Linked DNA regions of Homo sapiens: region 2 is linked to region 1. Evidence: promoter capture Hi-C in 16 types of primary human blood cells and fetal thymus (Javierre and others, 2016). All regions are on one chromosome and are shown on one strand. Each heading gives the region's core, a stretch centred on a gene start or on the middle of the fragment in contact. The rest is flanking DNA. Distances are from core to core; before and after follow the strand shown. Region 1 holds the start of ATP10D (ATPase phospholipid transporting 10D (putative)). Region 2 overlaps GABRA4 (gamma-aminobutyric acid type A receptor subunit alpha4).

Region 1 (3,343 bases), core at 568-3,067:
AGTGGTTATTCCAATGACCTTCATGGTATTTATGAGTATTGATTTTTAAAAATTTGATTAGAAATATTTAAATTATCAAAATGATACAAATTTCATTCAAATGACAGACACAAATAGAAAGCTAGTAATCTCCCCTCACTATCCTTCCCTGAGTAAACAATTTTGAGGTGTATCTTCACGTTTTTATATTTATATTAAAATAAACCAATATATAAAGAATATGTATAAGGCTAAGTTGTATTACATAATGTTTTCCATTATTCTACTACTATGCTCTTTAGACTTAAATATAATAGATTTTCTTCTAAGACAATAATTCAAATCTTAGTCAGTGATTCTCAACCCTTGTGCACATTAGAATTTCTAGAGGAGCTTGAAAAAAAGACATTGCCATAGCGCCACCCCCAGAGATTCTGGTTTAATTGGCCTGGGTGGGGCCTTGGCATCAAGCTCCCCGGTTCACTCTGATGTGTAGCTAGTTAGAACCACTGATTTAAGCAATCCAAACAGGCTACATGCCTGAATTGTCCTGGTATGTACGTTCCCAGGAAGGCCCTCTGCTGAGGTAACAACACCAGTGTTTGATTGGGAGAGCTCAGGGGGGCCCAGCTACAGTTTTAAGTCTCCTCTATAAGGTTGACTCTCAGATAGGAAATGTGTTTCATCTTAAAGGATGTTAGAGACAGTCATATGACTGCAAAAAGTGCTACTAGGGCCAGGAATTTCAGAGGCCATGTAAATGACAGTGTATTCTACTAGGCTGGGTTAATTCTGGGGATTAAGTTTGACTAAGTTCTAGAGATTTGTCCTTACCTGCAGATGGAGGCTTCCCTAATGGAGCATCATAGGAAGCCACACCCAGAACTTGTTTCTCCTCGTCTGGCAGAAGCACGTTCTCAGTGGGTGCAGAAACTTGTTTGGCTTCTCTTGGTCTGAGAGAATTTTCAAGCCGACCAACCAGCTCCCTGTGTCTGTACTGGTGAGCTCTTTACTAATAGTCAAACATTTGCATGCTCATTTAGTTTTCTTCACTCTTGTTGCACATCTGAGAAACACTTGAGAGAATGGAAGAGAGAGGCACAATATAGGAGAGCTGTGGAGAGTTTGGCCCCACTTTTTATATTTGTTTCAATGGGATAAAACAGGCAGCCAAGATTATTAGGTTTTGTTCTGAGTTATTGGTTCGGCCTTCACTAAATGGCTTTTCCTCTTTCCAAATTAGACATTTTGAGAAACCAGACAGGTTGTTGAAACTTATTTAGAAGTTTTAAAAAAAGTTGTGAATTTTAAGCAAACGGACCTTGGCAGGTGTATGGACAAAGCCACATTATCCTGAGTAAGGGAACGGAAGGGCAAGGTGTGAGGAAAACGACCAAATCAGAATTGTAATATTTTTCCTCATTTCTTTTCTAGTCATAAAAACAGTAACATTACATATTATTTATTTATTTTGTGGTAGGGTCTCACTCTGTCGCCCAGGCTGGAATGCAGTGGCGCGACATTTTTAGATTTGATCTCTTTTACCCTCCAAAAAATAATTGTCCAGTGTTCCACGTTTAGCTAAAACAGTGAATTGTTAGAATTGCAGCAAAACAATGAACCAAACCGTCAACCGCGAGCAACCTGTACTTGGGAGGTGAAAGTCAGAGGTGAGATTGTAAGGGCTCTGGGTCACTGGGGCATCTGCGCTGGGCAGAAGGGCAGCTCGGTCAAACAGCTGGAGCTGGGAGCCGGTCAGTTGCCAGGCCCTGCCGCTGCTACGTCACGGAGGGCGGGGCGGTGGGCGATTGGCGGTGCACTGCAGCTCGGGCTGCTCTGCAGCCTGGCGGAGACGGGAGGAGGAGCGGAGGGAGAAGTAGGTTGCGAGCTCAGCACAGGCTCCGGCGCTGGCTCCCGCAGCTGAGTTTGGGAGATGTCTAAGTGATTTTTTTTTTTTCCCGGAAGGCAAATGGCTGGCGTGGAAGCACAACCCGCTTTCACTCTTCGAATTTGTGCTTAGCTCTTTTCTTGTACCTTGCGACTCGTGACCAACATGCTGTGATGTGTGCCGAGGGAGGAATTGGTAAGAGTGAGACGGCGAATCCCTCTGACTGTCCCAGCCTTCTGCTTCACCGCCCACCCGCTTTTCCTTTCTGTTTCTCTCTCCTGTTTCTCCCCGCTCCACTTCCCTAGTCGTGTTTAGATTTGATGACATGGCTCAAAACTACAGTTCTGGGCTGTTACTGAACTAAAAAAAAAAAACAACAAAAGATAAAATGATTACACCATTTTCAATCATTTGTTAAAGGGGAATTTAAAAATCTATTTTAAATGCTGGATTTTGTAAAAAGGTAAACTGCACACGCGGGCGCACACGGGCACGTACATACACGCATTCTCACACACCTTTGTACACGCGGGCATACACGGGCACGCACACACACGCATTCACACACACACACACTCCTTTGTCATCCCGTTGTGAAATAAGCAGTTTAAAGAAATTTTGGTTATCTGCCTCAAAGGTGATGAAAAGGGAAGGTGTTGAAGATTTAGCCCAGCAGATTGATTCCTTAAGGTTGATTCCCTAAGGTTGATTCCTTAGGAAGAAAAAGGTGTTTGTATTGGAGCTTTCTCGGAAATAGTTTTCAAAGGAGTGCTACAAAGAAGCCCCCATGCTTCCCCCAAAACACTAACTTTAAAGAACCTAGTTGTTATTCGGGGCACCCTTTATTTTACGTTGTAAAACATGTAGTTTTAATTTACCACGTACAGCAGAGAGACATCAGTTGGTTAGGGAATGGATGGTTATTTTGGTGTCTGGGACCCTGTGCCTTTAGAAAGAATATGTTTTAACTGCTCTTATCATGCTAGCTCAGGTTTTTAAAATGTGATCTGAATAAGACCAAAGTTTCTTCTTGCGTTCTTTTCATGCTGGTTCTAAGCAGGGAGAAAAACAAGTCTGTATGGACAGAGCAAACCTCTAACTCAAAATCAACCTTGAGAGATGCATCAACAAGGACAGGGGCTCCTCATCCACCAATATTTACTTGTATCAGCCTTTAAATCATGTAGGTCACATTTCTGTGAAGAATAGCATCATCGAAAACCCTTGCTGACTTGTGAAGAGCAAAAATCATTGCAACGGAGTAGTTTGTTCAGTGCCCGCAGCAAGAACCTCCCACTCCGATCCACCTCAAAAAGTAATAACTGCTTCTTCTGGACTGTTTTCTATTCTCACTACAAATACGTATCATATACCTACATTGAGATAGTTTATTTTTATTAAAATGAGGTCATTTTATACATTTGGAAAAATAACTTAGCAACATTTTAAAGTTTTAGGGAGTTTAAAAATAACATT
Region 2 (3,343 bases), core at 354-2,853, 510 kb before region 1:
TTGTGACTAAGACTACTTAGATTATCTGTATAAATAGGTTTTTGTTTGTTGTGGGGAAAGGAGGTTGTTTTTATTTCTTTATTATAAAATATTAGTTAATGAAATCTCCAGAAATAAAACCGGACAGTTTTTGTTATGGACCATGACTTAAATGTTGGATTATGAAAAATAAAATACATGTGTAAATATTAGCTTGCATGAGGTAATCATAAATTCTAGCAAAATTTTTATTATAACTTACAACTCCCGAATTTCAAAGGGCATGCATGACCATCCATGGGAAAATCCACCAATCTCATGGGACACTCCGCACTTATGGTGAGTCTATGATGAAAAATGCAATTAAATAAAATCAACCCTTTTAAAGAATAATTGTGACTTTAGATTCTAAAATAGGAAGGAAGGGAGGGAAGGAGGAAGGAAGAAGGGAGGGAAGAAAAGGAAGGAAGGAAGGGAAGGAGGAAGGGAGGGAGGAAGGGAGGGAGGAAGGGAGGGAGGAAGGGAGGGAGGAAGGAAGGAAGGAAGGAAGAAAGGAAAGGAAAGAAAGAAAAGAATAAAAAAGGAAGGGAAGAAGTAAAAAAAAATATTACCTCATTGTGTATAAAATAGTACCATTTCTCATAATTCTAAAAAGCTTATTTGGAGCTGTCATATTATGTGAGACAGATTTCTTTCCATTCCTGAAGAAAGTATCAGGGGTCCACACTTTCGTTACCATCATATTGTTCAATCTCAAAATTTCAATGGGGCCGTCATATTTTAATCTTTTGTCAATCCATGTCTGCCTGAAGAACACATCCATTGTGTATTCCTAGGACAATTATTTTGGAACATATTTAAGTTGCAAATGACTACACATAAGTATGTGAAAATAATGCATTAAATTCTGTCTTCCTTCATGCTCATAAAAAAATACCACTCCAAATAAAATTAATAGGAGCAGGAATGATCTTGAATCAATGGAGCAAAAAGATTCTCAGCAATTAGAATAACTTTTATCCATCTTGATACCTTCATCTTCTACATTCATAAGATAAATAAATTACCACACATACTAATAATTTAATAATAAATTTGCTATAATTTAAGAAAACTGCCAGTACCAGGTAGTTACAATTGTGTTTTACTTTAGACTAGATAGCAAAAATCAGTTAAAGTGTAAAAAATATCATGCACAATTAATCGTGTAATTGTAGGCATTTTAAAGACAAAATAATATGTGTAAGAGATATTTTATTTTCACAAAGTTTATTAAAATGAGTCAAATAACTCAAGGGTTTCAAATTACTAGGAGCTTTAAATCAATGAATAAACTAAAGTAAGTTTTTTGTCTTGCAAACTAAATATATTTAATATAAGAGAGCACAACTGTATGGATGAATTCTTCCTGACCAGTGCTTCGTATTCTAAGCTCTTAAACATGAGTGAGAAGGAGGCAGAAGGGCTGGGATGGGCAGCAAGCAATTAGATCAACATGAAATACTAAATATAATGAAAACTATAAAATAGTGTACACGACTAGTTCATACTGAAACTAATTATCACCTCTAATTTTCTCCTCCTCAATAGTTTCCTAAAGAAAAAACAGCCGGGCACGGTGGCTCATGCCTGTAATCCCAGCAATTTGGGAGACTAAGGTGAGAGGATCACCTGAGGTCAGGAGTTCGAGACCAGCCTGACCAACATGGAGACACCCTATCTCTACTAGAAACACAAAATTAGCCAGGCACGGTGGGGCATGCCTGCATTCCCAGCTACTTGGGAGGTTGAGGCAAGAGAATCACTTGAACCTGGGAGATGGAGGTTGCAGTGAGCAAAGATCCCGCCATTGTACTCCAGCCTGGGCAACAAGAGCAAAACTTCATCTCAAAAAAAAAAAAAAAAAAAAAAAAAAGAAAAAGAAAGAAAGAAAAGAAAAGTAAAAAGGAAAGCAAAAAAGCTGCACCCTAGGTTGTGCTATAGGAACCAGTAATAGGAAAGTTCTTCTCTTTGTTTAGAATGACCCTAAATCAACAAGTACTCAAATGTTACAACTGAAATGCAAATTGAATGAGATTCAATGTCTTACTCTTCATACATTCTTAAGTTTAATTAGGGATTCTTTAGGTTTCTGGCTTTGTGTGATTGACAACAAAATAAATATTAATTGCCCTCTTTTCTACATGTTTTCTTCAAGTCTCAAAAGGTACATTAAACTTCGAAAATACCTACCATTTCAACATCAGAAACAGGTCCAAAGCTGGTGACATATATGTCAGTTTTCACTTCTGTAACAGGACCTAACGGGTATGAAGTAAATAAGTGTGAAAAAATAATTACCAATTTTACAGGCTGGGAAGGTTAGATAATTACAGAGTAAATACAGATATGATATATCATGTTTTTACAAGCATCTTACATTTTCAGTGAGATAATGAATCTCTACAAAACAAATGTAGACCAAAGCGCAACAAGACCAGAAAGCAGTGTTTACTTACAGGCAAAAAGAAACCCCAATTACTTACCAGGAACCTTGTTTCTTCAAAGATACGTCACCCCTGGGTACTGTTACAACAGGCAATGCAGAGACACAAAAGCTTTTAACCTTTGCGATATTTTATAGTCCATCATCTGATTGGCCTCTAATAAAGAAGTGAGCTGTTAAAAAGGGGAAGTGTGGCCACAGCAACAAAGAAGAGAAAAACCATAACAGCTGTAAGGAATGTATCCTTGGAGAGCTGAGGATACTAGTAAATAATTTTAAAAATGATTCATGTCACCTTTATCAACAAGCACACCATCCACTGCTGATTGGGATCAAAGACAAACTTTCTTACAAGTGACAGATACTTACACTCTGCCACCTACTAGCTGTACAATCTTGTGCAAGTTATTTAACTCCTCAATAGTAGCCACCACAACCATCAGGCAAGATTTTGATAGCGATCAAATGAAATTGCTGAAATAAGATGCTCAGCAAAACGACTCTCTCATGAAAGTACTCATTCCATGTGAGGTTCCCTTTGCTTCTGACAGTGGCCACTACTGAGACTGTTTCCCGTATCTAAATAAGACTAGTTCGTAAAGAAGCACACTGGTGTTTTGGCAGAAGAGAAATGTGGGAGCATAATGACAATATGGCTGACACAGATTTTAGACAAGGGAACACAATCTGGGTTTAACACAATCTGAGTTTAGCATGAAGCTTAAAATCAGAAAGTTTGGAGTTCAAATTTGGTTCTAACATCTTCTAGTAATATCATCTTCAAGTCACATATCCTCATAGGTAAAGATATTAATGAGTATTAATTGAGATAATACTTGTAAGTCATTTGTCCCAGTCTCTAGAACATAATGTGCTCAA

Evidence for each region. The method cuts DNA at HindIII sites, captures the fragments that hold promoters and counts their contacts. A CHiCAGO score of 5 or more calls a contact.
Region 2: a contact is called between a fragment that was not itself captured here and the fragment with the promoter of ATP10D in region 1, in 1 of 17 cell types (M2 macrophages). The highest score is 5.7, in M2 macrophages.

The regions. Positions count from the first base shown.
Region 1 is chr4:47,483,458-47,486,800 of GRCh38, forward strand. ATP10D (ATPase phospholipid transporting 10D (putative)) reads left to right here and starts at 1,818. Exons shown (of 23, transcript NM_020453.4): 1 at 1,818-2,062. RefSeq lists enhancers at 1,655-1,949, 1,921-1,990. The HindIII fragment of the contact is 11,274 bases long and covers 1-3,343 here.
Region 2 is chr4:46,976,820-46,980,162 of GRCh38, forward strand. GABRA4 (gamma-aminobutyric acid type A receptor subunit alpha4) reads right to left here. Exons shown (of 9, transcript NM_000809.4): 3 at 2,212-2,279; 4 at 591-811; 5 at 242-324. Among named protein-coding and RNA genes, the nearest start is that of GABRA4, 15 kb to the right of the region's middle. The HindIII fragment of the contact is 1,942 bases long and covers 633-2,574 here.